Regions from separate parts of the Homo sapiens genome. Here all the other regions are linked to region 2. Evidence: promoter capture Hi-C in 16 types of primary human blood cells and fetal thymus (Javierre and others, 2016). All regions are on one chromosome and are shown on one strand. The core of a region is centred on a gene start or on the middle of the fragment in contact, and the rest is flanking DNA. Distances in the headings are between cores, read along the strand shown.

Region 1 (3,139 bases), core at 328-2,827, 680 kb before region 2:
CCTTCCCAAATCTTTTCAGCATAAACTTACCATCAGTTCAGATAGGTTAGTGCCACACACCTGCAAATAAGTCCTCCCCCACTGTAAATACTCTCCTTTAAGGTGGGCTGAATTCCTACCTCCCGGAAAGTTAGTTACCTTGTCATAACATGTTGAATTTTTAATATCCTGGATTCCCTCAATAGTCTTTACCACCTGTATTGTTTTCAACCCTTAACCTTAAGCTTTGTCTCTACCTAAGTCAAAAACATCTGGAGACTTAACACTATACAGTACTATGGAACAAAATACAAATGCCTCTTTAAGAAATACCAAATAAAGGCCAGACGTGGTGGCTCACGCCTGTAATCTAGAGACCTAACACCATACAGTACTATGGAACAAAATACAAATGCCTTTTTAAGAAATACCAAATAAAGGCCAGGCATGTTGGCTCACGCCTGTAATCCCAGCACTTTGGGAGGCTGAGGCAGGTGGATCACCTGAGGTCAGGAGTTTGAGACCAGCCTGGCTAACACGGTGAAACCCCGTTTCTACTAAAAATACAAAAAATTAGCAGAGCATGGTGGCACGTGCCTATAATCCCAGCTACTCGGGAGGCTGAGGCAGGAGAATCGCTTGAACCCCGGAGGCGGAGGTTGCAGTGAGCCGAGGTCGCACCACTGCACTCCAGCTTGGGCAACAAGAACGAAACTCAGTCTCAAAAACTATAAATAAATAAATCGCAGCCGTTAGGAGACTAAGATTCCACAGACTGATTACTGAAAGTAATTGCAAAAACTGCAAATACTTTTGTACCAACCTAATAGATGCCAGGCAGGAAACCAGATAAAAGCCGAGAAAAGAAGGGCCAATATTAGAAGGGGTTACCGGGCTGTGTGCACTAAGGGACCCCCTCCCTTTCCCAGAACGCACCGCCAGCACTGCACCTTCACTCAGTACCAGGTAGCCGAGCTGGTCTGGGATTCGCTCCAGCCCCTGGGTCAGCGCAGAAGTCTAGTGGGTAAAGATGCAAGTCGTGAGAAGCATGCTAGAGGGATGGACGGCCCGATACCCTTCACCTGCAAACCCAAGTCTCTGGGTTGACGATGGCCCCAGGTTTTCTCATTCCCCAGCCAGGTCCCTTCCCGGCCCCCTCCCCCCTACATGGTCCTCAATACTGATCTTCCCGAGCCTCCATCTGCCCCCACTCTCGCCCCCGGGCTCCCCTGGCCTTCCACATCCCACCTTTGCTACCCCAAGGGGCCTTTGCTGCCCCACTGGCCCCTGCCCCCAGACCCTCTCTTCACCTCCCTTCGTCTCCGCCCGACCTGCAGACTACCCGCAGCCCCAGAACACCCTCCCACAGACCCCTCCCCAGCATTCTCGTCGCCATCCCTCCCATTTCCATCCCCTCTTCCTCCCCGAGCGGATAGGAGGTGAGGGTGGAGCGCAGGCCCACCAGGGGGAAACCACACAGACTGGGGAGCAGAGACGCTGAACCCCCGGCGGGTCCTCTCGCGCATGCGTCCTCACTCACCATCGCAGTCTTCGGTGCTGGGGGAGCTCCCTACCAGATAGGTAGCTTCCGGCTTCAGGCCCCGGTCACGTGCTTGCAGCCGCTGCGCTCCTCCTTCTGCTTGCGCCACTGGCCTTTAGCCCCGCCTCTAGCATGAGGATTGGACAGTGGCCACGTCGTCAGACCCAACCAGCCAGTGCGAAGCGCTGTTTCCCGGAGGCGCACGTTGATTGGTGATATCCCCTCTTTAACACCCATCTCCCCGCCCCTCAGTGCCTGAGCGAGAGGAAGACGCGGGAGCGTCCGAGGAGGGGAGGATCTGGGAGGGGCGGGAGTAGGCCGGGGTTGACCGTTTGGTCCTGGGCGCACTGTCTGGAGCCAGAGTTCCGCCTGAGCCAGGATGCCCGCTGGTGTGACCCCCCCAAATGAATCCCTTCCCAGGTTTAAGACTGGACCCAAAAACTAGAGAATAAAAGGAAATAACGTGCAATGCATGTGAAAAACTATTCAAGGCTGGGCGCCGTGGCTCACGCCTGTAATCTCAGCGCTTTGCGAGGCCGAGGACGGATCATTTCAGGGCAAGAGTTCGAGACGAGCCTGAGCAACATAGCGAGACCCTCCCCAGTCCCCCCGCTCCAACCACCTCTACAAAAAAATAAGAAAATAAGCCGGGCATGGTGCCTCACGCCAGTAATTCCAGCTACTAGGGAGGCTGATGGAGGAGAATCTCTTGAGCTCAGCAGTTGCAGAGTGCAGTGAGCTATTATGGTGCCACTGCACTCCAGCCTGGGTGCCCTTCCTCTAAAAAAAAAAGAAAAGAAAAGGAAAAAAAAGGTACTCAAATGCTACTTTTTTTTTTTTTTGAGTCGGAGTCTCACTCGGTCGCCCAGGTTGCAGTGCAATGGCGCGATCTCTGGCTCAATACAACTTCCGCCTCCCGTGTTCAAGCAATTCTCCTGCCTCAGCCTCGCGAGTAGCTGGGATTACAGGCGCCCACCACCACGCCCGGCTATTTTTGTGTTTTTAGTAGAGATAGGGTTTCACCATATTGGCCAGGCTGGTCTCAAACTCCTGACCTCGTGATCCGCCCGCCTCGGCCTCCCAAAGTGCTGGGATTACAGGCTTGAGCCACCGCGTCCGGCCCTCAAATGCTACTTTTGTGCCTACTCAAGACAGCTCTTTGTTGAAGACAAGAATTTGTTCCCGAAGTGGTTTTTTTGTCCCCAGATTCAGTCCGGGACAATGTGGTGGTAAATAGAATCCCCAGCTAGCCAATGCAGCTGCAATACTGAATATTCATTCCCTACAGGAAAAAATTAGAAACAGTACCTTGGAATGATACACACACACACACACACACACACACACACACACATCACACAATATATGTAAACATTAGAAATTTTTGTTTTAAATAATTTCTAAACCTGTTGCCATATTAATGTGGTGGAGGCTGTGTTAGTGAAATAATATGAAGAATGATTCTAGAAGCCTGGGCAACATAGCAAGACCCCATCTCTAAAAATTTAAAAATTAACCAGGCATGATACTGCACATGTAGTCCCAGCTACCCGGGAGGCTGAGGTGGGAGAATCGCTTGAGCCCAGGAGGTTGAGGCTGCAGTGAGCCATGATCATGCTA
Region 2 (3,041 bases), core at 58-2,557:
CCCAGGGAAGCCAAGAGATTGGACACCCCTGCACTATATTTACTGAATGTGTTTGTGAAGGCTGTGCATCTGAATGTCAGACTTGCTAATGAAAAATTAAATGGAGTCCATGTTTTGGGTACGGCCCTAGGCCAACCACCCACAGCCATGTAAGGCATTTAAAATACATTGATTTCTCCCTTGAGTTCAGGAGTTGGAGACTGCAATGAGCTATGATGGCACCACTACACTCCACCCTGGGTGACAGAGCAAGACCCTGTCTCTCTTAAAAACAACAGGCCGGGCGTGGTGGCTCACACCTGTAAATCCCAGCACTTTGGGAGGCCGAGGCGGGCGGATCATGAGGTCAGGAGTTCAAGACCAGCCTGGCCAACATAGTGAAACCCAGTCTCCACTAAAAATACAAAAATTAGCCGGGCATGGTGGCGCGTGCCTGTAGTCCCCGCTACTCGAGAGGCTGAGGCAGGAGAATCGCTTGAACCCGGGAGTTGGAGGTTGCAGTGAGTCGAGATTGGCCCATTGTACTCCAAACTGGGCAACAGAGTAACACTTCGTCTCAAACACAACAGCAACAACAATTCCTTATTTCCCTGAAAAGTGTGCGCTGACCAGGAAAGAAGCTTTTTTCTCGTCCGCATGATAAACTGAACCAATCAGCTACAGATGCGAGGCTGATCCAGCTCGACTTACCCTAGAAGGAATGCAAGTTGATAATGGCCAATTACAATCAAGATCACTGCACTTCCTCATTTAGCTTTCCAAGCTGCCATTGGAACAATTTGCCAGCTGTTCCTCTGCATGCACAATAAACTCTTAAAACTTTAACTGGAGGGGACTGTTAACTTTTGACAAAATCCAAAATGCCGCTTCACAATCACGTGAACACCTTCCACTAACAACCACGGCTCATCTCCCACTCTAACAAAACCAAGTCCAGGCGTTCACCATCCATTCATTCTTCGGACTTTGCTCCTCTCGCTGCCGAAGACTTGACACCGCCAAAAATACTCAAAAGCTGGTGCCACAGGCCCCGAGAGCCGCCGCACAAACCCGGAGCGTCCCCTGCGAGCCGGGGGTGTGCGCAGTGGCCTACCCCCCGCACCCACGCCCCCCACAACACTCGTTTCCTTCTCCCCAAACCTGCTGACGGCTCCGAATCTCCGCCAAGCCGCCTCCACCAGGGGCTGGGCTCTCCTCTCGGGGTTCCCGGGCCTGACCCGAGGTCTGTCTGGTCCGCGCCCCTCGGCGAATCACCCCTTACCGGAGGAACAGACACAACCACTCTGGCAGCCTCAGAGCCTCTCGCTGGCTCCACCTGCGCGCGCCGAGCGAAGCGTCCCAGCCAGCGGCCCCTCTAGGACCGCGGAGGCTTCACGACTCTCTTGTCAGACAAAGAGAGTGGCGCCCGCGCGAGTGGGCCCGAACCAATCAACGGCCGCCCTCCCCGCCCAGGCCAATCAACGGCCGGAGACAGCACCGAGAGAGTCACGTGATGGACAGGGCCCCGCCCCTCCTGTTTAATCGTAACATAATTTAGAATTATTCTATGATTCAAGAGCGACACAATTCGTTTCTTTGGCTGTGTGTTTGTGGAGGGGAGTAAGGTTATCAGATAAAAGAAGAAAAATGGGCCAGGCGCGGTGGCTTACGCCTGTAATCCCAGCACTTTGGGAGGCAGAGGCCGGCGGATCAGGTCAAGAGATTTAGATCATCCTGGCCAACATGGTGAAACCCCTTCTCTACTAAAAATACAAAAAAATTGCCGGGCGCGGTGGCTCACGCCTGTAATCCCAGCACTCTGGGAGGCCGAGGCGGGTGGATCACCTGAGGTCGGGAGTTCGATACCAGCCTGACCAACAATGGAGAAACCCGTCTCTACTAAAAATACAAATAAAATTAGCCGGGCATGGTGGTGCCTGCCTGTAACCCCGGCTACTCGGGAGGCTGAGGCAGGAGAAGCGCTTGAACCCGGGAGGCGGAGGTTGCGGTGAGCCGAGATTGCGCCACCGCACTCCAGCCTGGGTGACAGAGCGAGACTCCGTCTCAAAAAAAAAAAAAAAAAAAAAAAAATTAGCTGGGCATGGTGGCGGCGTGCCTGTAGTGCCAGCTACTCGGGAGGCTGAGGCAGGAGAATCACTTGAACTCGGGAGGCGGAGCTTGCAGTGAGCCGAGATCCCACCACTGCACTCCAGACTGGCGACAGAGCGAGACTCTGTCTCAAAAAAAAAAAAAAGAATATTAGATCTTAATTAAAAGGATAATTGTGTGGCTTATGTAAATTACCCCCAAAATACAGTTTTAATGTGAGTAAGGGGTTAATTTTTTTTCTTTTTTTTTTGAGACAGTCTCGCTCTCGCCCAGGCTGGAGTGCAGTGGCGCGATCTCGGCTCACTGCAAGCTCCGCCTCCCGGGTTCACGCCATTCTCCTGCGTCAGCCTCCTGAGTAGCTGGGACTACAGGCGCCCGCTACCACTCCCGGCTAATTTTTTTTGTGTGTGTGTTTTTAGTAGAGACGGGGTTTCACCATTTTGGCCAGGCTGGTCTCGAACTCCTGACCTCAAGTGATCCGCCTGCCTTGGCCTCCCAAGTTTTGTTTGTTTTTTATTTCTTCTAAACAAAACAAAACAAACAGGATACACGTGCAGAACGTGCAGGTTTGTTACATGTGCCATGGTGGTTTGCTGCACCTATTGACCCATCCTCTAAGTTCCCTCCCCTTACCCCCGACTCCCCAAAAGGCCCAGGTGTGTGTTGTTCCCCTCTCTGTGTCCATGCGTTCTCAATATTCAATTCCCACTTATGAATGAGAACATGCTGTGTTTGGTTTTCTGTTCCTGTGTTAGTTTGCTGAGGCTGATGGCCACCAGCTTCATCCATGTCCCTGCAAAGGACAGGATCTCATTCCTTTTTGTGGCTGCTTAGTATTCCATGGTGTATTTGTACCACATTTTCTTTATCCAGTCTACCACTGATGGGCATTTGGGTTGGTTCCATGTCTTTGCTATTGTAAATAGTGTTGCAATAAACATATGTGTGTTGGC
Region 3 (2,901 bases), core at 131-2,630, 590 kb before region 2:
TGCAGCATATGAGAGTGGTAGCCGGGCACAGCGGCTCACGCCTGTAATCCCAGCACTTTGGGAGCTGAGGCGGGAGGATGGCTTGAGTCTGGGAGTTCAAGACCAGCTTGGGCAACATAGGGAGACCCCATTTCTACAAAAAGTTAAAATAAAAAAATTAGGTGGGCATGGTGTGCCCCTGTGGTCCCAGCTACTTGGGAGACTGAATAAGAGGATCACTTAAGCCTGGAAGGTCAAGGCTGCAATGGGTCAAGACTGCAGTGAGCCATGATTGTGCTGGCCTGGGCAACAGAGTGAGACCCTATCTTTAAAAAAATATTTATTTTATTTATTTATTTTGAGACGGAGTCTCATTCTGTTGCCCAGGCTGGAGTGCAGTGGTATCATCTTGGCTCACCGCAGTCTCCGCTCCTGGGTTCAAGTGATTCTCCTGACTCAGCCTCCCGAAGAGCTGGGACTAGAAGCACCTGGCACCACGCCCAGCTAATTTTTGTATTTTTAATAGAGATGGGGTTTCACCATGTTGGCTAGGCTGGTCTCAAACTCCTGACATCAGGTGATCCACGTGCTGGGATTACAGGCGTGAGCCACCGTGCCCAGATGTTTTTTTTTTTTTTGAGATGGAGTTTTGCTCCTGTTGTCCAGGCTGGAGTGCAATGGTTCAATCTCAGCTCACCGCAACCTCTGCCTCCCAGGTTCAAGCGATTCTCCTGCCTCAGCCTCCCGAGTAGCTGAGATTACAGGCATGTGCCACCATGCCCGGCTTATTTTGTATTTTTAGTAGAGACAGGGTTTCTCCATGTTCTAGACCATAGGCTGGTCTAGAACTCCTGACCTCAGGTGATCTGCCCGCCTCAGCCTCCCGAAGTGCTGGGATTACAGGCATGAACCACCACACCCGGCCCTTTAAAAAAAAAAAAAAAAAAAAAAAGAACAGTTGAGCCTCACGCAGATTAAAAACAAGGGAGAATGACTGCTGCAGGGCCAGGGTTAAGGAAAATGACAAGGACAATTAAGGATGAGGCTGAGTGGCAAACTCACAAAAACCCATGTTCCCACAGCAGTTGAACATAAAAGCAATCAGAGGGCATTCTGACCATTTACAATCATTCCCGCCCCAGATCCGTATCAATCAGAATGAAAGCACGTGATCTCCAAGAGGGCTTCACGCTCATCATTTACTTACACTGGCTACATCTTGTAATTCAGTTATAAAGTGACGCTCACTATTAAAATCAGATGGAACCAGTTTATCTTTTTAGAACGCCTCACCAGGCAGTCACACCTCTTCAAAGTCCACCTGGCCATCCACATCAGGGAAAAGGGGAGTAAGAGAAATTCGCTCTGAAAAATGGGACCCCTTGGAGAACTGTTAGTCCTCTGAGGGTACAGAAGCCTGTCAGCAAGCTACCTTCTTCACCCGTTTCCCCTTCCCTAGGAACCGCCCTGACAGCTTCTCTCTCTCTGCCCAGCTGTCTATCTCCTTCCTTTGCTGACAGTGACTATCAGCTGCTTCCAGGCTCACCCTCTCCTCACCATCTGCTGGGGGTCAGAGCTTCAGCAGCTGAAGTCCTTCACACTCTCCATAATTAGCAATCGCTTGCCTACACACAGACTTCTCTTCGAGTCACTGGACAGCCATGGACTACATGTGTGGGACAGAAGTAACCTCATAAACTTTGTTTTGTTTTGAGATAGAGTCTGGCTCTGTTGCCCAGGTGGGAGTACAGTGGCATAATCTTAGCTCACTGCAACCTCCACCTCCCAGGCTCAAATGATCCTCCTGCCTCAGCCTCCCGAATAGCTGGGACCCCAGGCACTAGCCACCACACCTGGCTAATTTTCGTATTTTTTGTACAAATGGGGTTTTACCATGTTGCTCAGGCTAGCCTCAAACTCCTGGCCTCAAATGATCCACCTGCCTTGGCCTCCCAAAGTGCTGGGATTACAGGTGTGAGCCACCATGCCCAGCCAAAAGTTAACATTTTAAAAAATAGCTGAATGAGGCAAAAATTGAAAAAGAATTTACCAGGACTATTTATTTCATTGTCTTCCAGGCTGCACTGTTACTGTTGGGTAGTTTGTCATCAGTCTAATCAGCATTCCTTTGAGGGGGGTAATCCGTCTTTTATGTCTTGGTTACTTTTGAGACCCGGTCTCACTCTGTCGCCCAGGCTGGAGTGCAGTGGTGCAATCTCAGGTCACTGCTGCACCACAACCTCCACCTCCTGGGTTCAGGTGATTCTCCTGCCTCAGCCTCCCAAGTAGCTGGGAGCTGGGACTACAGGCGTGTACCAATACACTCGACTAATTTTTGTATTTTTAGTAGAAATGTTTTTTTTTTTTTTTTTTTTGACGGAGTCCTACTCTGTTGCGCCAGGCTGGAGTGCAGTGGCGCGATCTTGACTTACTGCAACCTCTGCCTCCCAAGTTCAAGCGATTCCCCTGCCTCAGCCTCCCGAGTAGCTGGGACTACAGGTCCCAGGGACAACACGTGCCACCATGCCCGGTTGAGATGGAGTTTCACTATGTTGGCCAGGCTGGTCTCAAACTCCTGACCTCAGGTGATCCGCCTGCCTCAGCCTCCCGAAGTGTTGGGATTACAGGCGTGAGCCACCATGCCCAGCCAGTCTGGTTTTTTTTTTATTTTTTGAGATGGAATCTCACTCTGTTGCCAGGCTGGAGTGCAATGGCGCGATCTTGGCTCACTGCAATCTCCGCCTCCTGGCTTCAAGCGATTCTCCTGCCTCAGCCTCCTGAGTAGCTGGGACTACAGGTGCATGCCACCACGCCCAACTAATTTTTGTATTTTTAGTAGAGATGGGGTTTCACCATGTTGACCAGGATGGTCTCCATCTCCTGACCTCATGATCCGCCCTCCTCGGCCTCCCAAAGTGCTGG
Region 4 (3,149 bases), core at 81-2,580, 520 kb before region 2:
TATTTACCACTTCCCCTGCACTTCTGACTTTTCGAACTTTGTGCTTTTGCCTGAGTTCCATCTGGAATGTTCTTCTTGGATGGTGGAGCATGTCGTCCACCTAACCAATTCCTACCTCTCCTTTGAATACACACCACTTAGTGGAAGTCTTCCCTGATCCCTGCCGACAAGCTTTTCAACTGCATCTCTCTCTTAAGCTAACCCAAGTCAGTACCGGCACCCTTGCTGGAATGTCCCATTTTGGGAAAGGCAGTATTTCTTGTATGAATCTTCATTTGCTCTCTACTGGGGGTAAGTGCACGTTAGAGAATAATGAAAACTTCAAGTCAAGGGATGCAGAGTGCGTTTACCAGTTCAACAACCTGGACTTTCTACCAGGCCATTTTCAAACTGAGCTGCCACGGACAGCAGCATGGACTTTGGTGCTAGCGGGGTCGGCCTGAAATCTGCAGCCTGCATGCTCCAAGGATGCCTGAAAAGAAGGGTCGAACCATGGGCCGCTCCCAGGACCCACCCTTTTAGTCTTCCCAGCTGGCTCAGGAAACAAAGGGGGGCCGGAGAGAGGCGGCGCCCAGGGCGCAACAGCCGGAGACTGGCGCTGCGTGCCTGGGGACAGAGGCCTCGTGCTAGGAGCCCCAAGCAACTACACACCTAGCCGCTGGCAAGAACAAACAGCAGTGACAGCAACAAACAGAACCGACAGCCGCAGACCGCCGTCGCTGCGGCCCACAAAGGCCGGAAGTGTGGCGGGTGCCGGCGGCCGAGGCGCCCTCTCTAGGACTTCGGAGGGCCCGCATCTCGGTGGTTCCCTATACTGGAAGACCCCCGATTCCCAGGGCGTGTACCCTACGACGGGGGCCTCAAAATGAGTCAAAAGGGAGAAAAGCCTGGGCGCAGTGACTCGTACCTGTAATCCCAGTCCTTTGGGAGGCCGAGGTGGGAGGATCGCTTGAGGCCAGGAGTTCGAGACTGGCCTGGGCAACAGAGAGAGACCTGGTCTCTACCAAGAATTAATAAAATGAGCCGGGTGTGGTGGGGCACACCTGTAGCCCCAGCTATTCGGGAGGCTTAAGTGGAAGGATCACTTGAGCCCTGGAGTCAGAGGCTGCAGTGAGCTTTGCTTGCACCATTGCACTCCAGCCTGGGAAACACAGTGAGACCCCATCTCAAAAAGGAAAAAAAAGGAAAGAAGAGAGGGAAGGAGAGAGGGAGGAAGGACAGAGGGAGGGAGGAGGGAGAGAGGGAAGGAAGGAAGAGAGGAAGGAAGAAAGGAAGGAAGGAAAGAAGGAAGGAAGGAAGGAAGAAGGAATCGAATTCAGCGGCTCACCTGTGGAAGAGGAAATCCATTTACAATGCATCCAGGCCTGAGTTTCAGCTGAGGGGTTGGAGCATGGCTGATTATCATCCTGGCTTCCCCCAGAGACCAAGGAAACTGAGGCCTGGAGCAAGTTCTTGCTTGCTCAGGGTCTCACAGTGATCCGGGTCAGAAGCCAGGACTTGTGGGACCACGATTTGTGCCCTTTGCACTGCCTGGACTGCCTCTCATCATAAATGAATACGGATAAAATTCGTTATGCTTTCAAAGTGGTAGGAAACACATGACAGATCAAAGCAGACAAAATAGTGTGCAAGACTTTTGAGAAGACGCCTCACACTCGTCGGGATGGCTACAGTTTAAATATCCCTTATCTGAAATGCTTGGGACCGGAAATGTTTCAGATTTCAGAATTTTTTTTTGACTTTGGAATATTTGCTTTACTGGTTGAGCAGCCCTAATCCCAAAATCCTAAGTCTGAAATGCTCTAATGAGCATTTTCTCTAAGTGCCATGATGGCCCTCAAGTTCTGGTTTTGTAACTTTTGGAGCTCAGATATTTGGATTAGGGATACTCTCCCTGTACTAAAAACAAACAAACAAACAAACACAAAAAACCACCACCACCACCAACAAAACAAAACAAAATAGCAGGTGTTTGGTGAGGATGTGGACAAATTGGAATCTTTGTGCATTGCTGGTGGGAACATAACATGGTGCAGCCCCCGTGAGAAATAGTACAGCGCTTCTTCAATAAAATTAAAAATAGAATTGGCTGGTGTGGTGGCTCCCGCCTGTAATCCCAGCACTTTGGGAGGTGAAGGCAGGCGGATCATTTGAGATCAGGAGTTCCAGACCAGCCTGACCAACATGGCAAAACCCTGTCTCTACTAAAAATACAAAAAAAAATCAGCTGGGCGTGGTGGCTCACGCCTGTAATCCCAGCTACTCGGGAGGCTGAGGCAGGACAGTTGCTTGAACCTGTGAGGGGGAGGTTGCAGTGAGCAAAGATGGTGCCACTGCACTCCAGCCTGGGCGACAGAGCTAGATTCTGTCAAAATGAAATGAAATGAAATGAAATAAAATAAAATAAAATAATCTCTGAAGGCTAAAGAGAGAAATTGGGTCAGCTGAAGAGTTTACAGATTTGCAGAGAATAGAGGCAAGGAAGCTTTGTGAACTACTTTTAGGTTGTGAAACTTGGTCTTGATTCAGCCCCCACATGGTCTTCATATACAAAGCTTCTTTGCAGAGGAAGCTCTTTGGAGAAAGATAACTGGTGAGATAGAAAGCACAGCCAAGAGATAACAAGGGAGACTTCTCTGGAGAATTTTGTGGATGAAGAGGAAAAACAAATCCATAAGGTCATGGGGATAATGAGTTATTTGAAATCAGAAAGAGTGATTAACATGGAGGCGGGGCGCAGTGGCTCATGCCTGTAATCCCAGCGCTTTGGGAGGCTGAGGCAGGCGGATTGCCTGAGGTCAGAAGTTCGAGACCAGTCTGGCCAACATGGTGAAACCCCATCTCTACTAAAAATACAAAAAAATTAGCCGGGCGTGGTGGTGTGCACCTGTAATCTCAGCTACTCGGGAGGCTGAGACAGGGGAATTGCTTGAACCAGGGAGGTGGAGGTTGCAGTGAGCCGAGATTTCGCCACTACACTCCAGCCTGGGCAACAGGGCGAGACTCCATCTCAAAAAAAAAAAAAAAAAAAAAAAAAAAGCAAACCAAACCAAAGCACACAAACAAATAAACAAACAAAAAACATAAGGCAATTCTCTACAGGTGTTTTACTGCTAGAAGATCATGCTCCTCATTTCCTAAAGACTCAC
Region 5 (3,233 bases), core at 61-2,560, 650 kb before region 2:
GAATACAGGCGTGCACGCCCCTCTAAATTTTTTTTGGTTTTTTTTGAGACGGAGTCTTGTTCTGTCGCCCAGGCTAGAGTGCAGTGGCGTGATCTCAGCTCACTGCAACCTCCGCCTCCTGGGTTCAAGCGATTCTCCTGTCTCAGCCTCCCGAGTAACTGGGATTACAGGCGCCCACCACCATGCGTGGCTTTTTTTTTTGAGACGGAGTCTCGCTCTATCACCCAGGCTGGAGTGCAGTGGCACGATCTTGGCTCACTGCCAGCTCCGCCTCCCGGGTTCCCGCCATTCTTCTGCCTCAGCCTCCCGAGTAGCTGGGACTGCAGGCGCCTGCCACCACACCCGGCTAATTTTTTGTATTTTTAGTAGAGACGGGCTTTCACCGTATTAGCCAGGATGGTCTCGATCTCCTAATCTTGTTATCCACCCGCCTTGGCCTCCCAAAGTGCTGGGATTACAGGCGTGAGTCACCGCGCCCAGCCGCCCGGCTAATTTTTGTATTTTTGGTAGAGACGAGGTTTCTCCATGTTGGCCAGGCTGCTCTCGAACTCCTACACTCAGGTGATCCGCCTGCCTCGGCCTCCCAAAGTGCTAGGATTACAGGTGTGAGTCACTGCGCCCAGCCTCCAGGCTGGTCTTGACCTTTTGGACTCAAGTGATCCTCCCATCTCCACCTCTGCAGTAACTGGGACTACAGGCGCTGCACCACCAGCCCTGCAGTCTTCTTTGTGTGTGTGTGTGTGTGTAGAATTGGGGTTTCACTATGTTGCTCAGGCTGGAGCTTGAGCTTAACAAGACAGCGGCCATTCTGGGTGCTGCCTCATCGACCAGCTAGCTATGTGTGCCCGGCTGTTGTTTGAAACTTTGGGCCCAGCTAGTTTTTAGAAAAAAAGAAAAAAGTTTAATAGCGATATAGAAAATTGAGCACCTATAAAACTATATGGTGGGCTCTGGGTTACATTGAGCTTAAGTAGACCAAGTATCTATCCCACCTAAATTATCAGCAACTCCAGGCCATGACCCAGTGTCCCATTCTCCTTCACGGTTTGCTGGTGTGTAGCCTCCTGGATACAGGCAATGTATATAGATCGCAGAGAATGTCCGTTCTGGCCTCTTCCTTGGAAGGGTCTAAAAACAGACCTTAAGGAGCTAAGTGACTTCCCCAAAGCCCACAGCTCCAGTGCCACTGCTGACTTTTGGGTGGGGGTGGGATCAGTTAAAGAGGAAAGCTTTCAGTACTGTCAGCACATACACCTGCCAATTAAGGGGCTGGATAGAGTTCATCTCTAGGAGCAGGACCTCCACCCCCACCCTCCACCCCAGAAGCCATGTCATGCTGTTTCACCAGGATCTTGCCTGAGGTTAGATGGGAGAGAACAGCTACAAGCTTGGGTGGAGTCACTCATAAACACACCCTGAAAGCTGTGGAGCAGGGAGAGTGCAGGCTTTAGAGGGCTCTCCATGATCCCTTCCCCTCCTGGGGGCTCAAAGGCAAGGGTCAAAGATCTTCTCGGTCAAGTTTGGGGTGGCTTCCTGTCTTGGTCATCTTGTCTCCCCCTTCCTCTTCCTCCTCTTCCTCCTCCTCCTCCTGCTCTTCCTCCCCTTCTGTTTTCTCTTCCCCATCTGTGATCTCCTTTCCAGTCCAAGTTTCCTGTAGACATGCTAGATCGGATGACAGAAAACAATTTAGATATTAGTCCTGGAGGCAGGGGAGGCTATGGCTTGGCAGGAGAGGAGTTCAACCCTTACGCTTACCAGTTTCAGCAGCTGGGAGCACATGACCTTCACAGAGAAAATTTTGTAGGGGCTGCTCCTGATGGTGGAAGTACCAGTCTCCCACAATGTCTTCAAACTCCTCCAACATGGTCTCACACTGGTCAAGTAGAAGGGCCAGAAGAGTATCTGCTCTGGAGGGATTTGGGATCCCGCCTGTCTTCTCTCCCTGCTCAACCTGACTGATTTTGGAGAGGCAGGTAGCCAGGAAGCTAAGTTTGGCCTACTAGATGTGCAATCCTCATTCATTCAACAAACATTTACCAGCACCTATTCTGCCAAGTAGATTATTAAACTCTTGAGTCTCAGCTCCTTGCCTGTAAAATATGTATGGTAATTGCACCTACCACATCAGGCTGTTAAGGGTAAAATGAGGCTACAGATGCAAAGTATCTGGTCCAGAGTCTGGGACACAGTAGGTGCTCAATAAGTGATGGTGGATATCATTAGCAACCATTGTTACTTTTTTTTTTTTTTGAGATGGAGTCTCGCTCTGTCACCCAGGCTGGACTGCAGTGGTGGGATCTCAGCTCACTGCAACCTCCGCCTCCCGGGTTCAAGTGATTCTCCTGCCTCAGCTTCCTGAGTAGCTGGGACTACAGATGCATGCCACCACACCACCACGCCCGGCTAATTCTTGTATTTTTAGTAGAGACAGGGTTTCACTATGATGGCCCGGCTGGTCTTGAACCCCTGATGTCGTGATCCGCCTGTCTCGCCCTCCCAAAGTGCTGGGATTACATACGTGAGCCATCGCACCTGGCCCATTATTACTTTTTAAAAATTTTCCTTAAGGCAGGGCCCAATGGCTCATGCCTGTAATCCCAGCACTTTGGGAGGCCAAGGCGGGTGGATCACCTGAGGTCAGGAGTTCGACCAGCCTGGCCAACATGATGAAACCCCGTCTCTACTAAAATTACAAAAAATTAGCTGGGCGTGGTGGCAGGGGCCTGTAATCCCAGCTACTCGGGAGGCTGAAGCAGGAGAATGGCTTGAACCCGGGAGGCGGAGGTCGCGGTGAGCCGAGATGGTGCCGGTGCACTCCAGCCTGGGCAATAAGAGTGAAACTCCGTCTTGAAAAAAAAAATTCTTTAAAATTATTATTATTTGTAGAGAAGGGGGTCTCTTATGTTGCACAAGCTGGTCTCTAACTCTGGTCTCAAACAGTCCTTCTCCCTCAGACTCACTAAGTGCTAGCATTACAGTTGTGAGCCACTCCACCCGGCTCATTATGATTTCTTTTTTTTTGTTTTTGTTTTTGTTTTTTTTTTTAAGATGGAGTCTTGCTCTGTCGCCCTGGCTGGAGTGCAATGGTGCGATCTTGGCTCATGGCAACCTCCACCTCCTGGATTCAAGCAATTCTCTTGCCTCAGCCTCCCAAGTAGCTGGGATCACAGGCGTGCACCACCACGCCCAGCTAACTTTTGTGTTTTTATTAAAGACGGGGTTTTGCCTTGTTG

What was found. Contacts are between HindIII fragments. The CHiCAGO score rates a contact against its expected background, and 5 or more counts as called.
Region 1: the fragment with the promoter of LAMTOR4 here is called in contact with the fragment with the promoter of ZNF789 in region 2 in 1 of 17 cell types (neutrophils); the score reaches 5.3 in neutrophils.
Region 3: a contact is called between a fragment that was not itself captured here and the fragment with the promoter of ZNF789 in region 2, in 1 of 17 cell types (erythroblasts). The highest score is 6.4, in erythroblasts.
Region 4: a contact is called between a fragment that was not itself captured here and the fragment with the promoter of ZNF789 in region 2, in 3 of 17 cell types (erythroblasts, megakaryocytes and fetal thymus). The highest score is 8.5, in erythroblasts.
Region 5: a contact is called between a fragment that was not itself captured here and the fragment with the promoter of ZNF789 in region 2, in 1 of 17 cell types (erythroblasts). The highest score is 6.7, in erythroblasts.

Annotation. Positions count from the first base shown.
Region 1 is chr7:100,147,356-100,150,494 of GRCh38, reverse strand. It overlaps LAMTOR4 (late endosomal/lysosomal adaptor, MAPK and MTOR activator 4), which reads right to left and starts at 1,577. Exons shown (of 4, transcript NM_001008395.4): 1 at 1,520-1,577; 2 at 916-996. The coding sequence starts at 1,522. RefSeq lists silencers at 1,008-1,097, 1,108-1,197 and enhancers at 737-1,349, 1,498-1,607, 1,878-1,937, 1,962-2,574. The HindIII fragment of the contact is 7,868 bases long and covers 227-3,139 here.
Region 2 is chr7:99,471,156-99,474,196 of GRCh38, reverse strand. It overlaps ZNF789 (zinc finger protein 789), which reads right to left and starts at 1,307. Exons shown (of 5, transcript NM_213603.3): 1 at 1,141-1,307. RefSeq lists enhancers at 1,018-1,307, 1,598-1,687, 1,908-2,067. The HindIII fragment of the contact is 10,687 bases long and covers 623-3,041 here.
Region 3 is chr7:100,060,312-100,063,212 of GRCh38, reverse strand. The region is part of intron 3 of ZSCAN21 (zinc finger and SCAN domain containing 21); the gene reads right to left. Among named protein-coding and RNA genes, the nearest start is that of ZSCAN21, 12 kb to the right of the region's middle. The HindIII fragment of the contact is 4,595 bases long and covers 1-2,901 here.
Region 4 is chr7:99,995,289-99,998,437 of GRCh38, reverse strand. It overlaps LOC105375423 (a long non-coding RNA gene), which reads right to left and starts at 1,363. Exons shown (of 3, transcript NR_159960.1): 1 at 1,328-1,363. RefSeq lists enhancers at 786-905, 916-1,005. The HindIII fragment of the contact is 2,314 bases long and covers 174-2,487 here.
Region 5 is chr7:100,123,154-100,126,386 of GRCh38, reverse strand. CNPY4 (canopy FGF signaling regulator 4) reads right to left here. Exons shown (of 6, transcript NM_152755.2): 5 at 1,756-1,873; 6 at 879-1,662. The coding sequence ends at 1,499. It also overlaps a transcript of TAF6 not described here. Among named protein-coding and RNA genes, the nearest start is that of MBLAC1, 2.2 kb to the left of the region's middle. RefSeq lists an enhancer at 181-850. The HindIII fragment of the contact is 158 bases long and covers 1,232-1,389 here.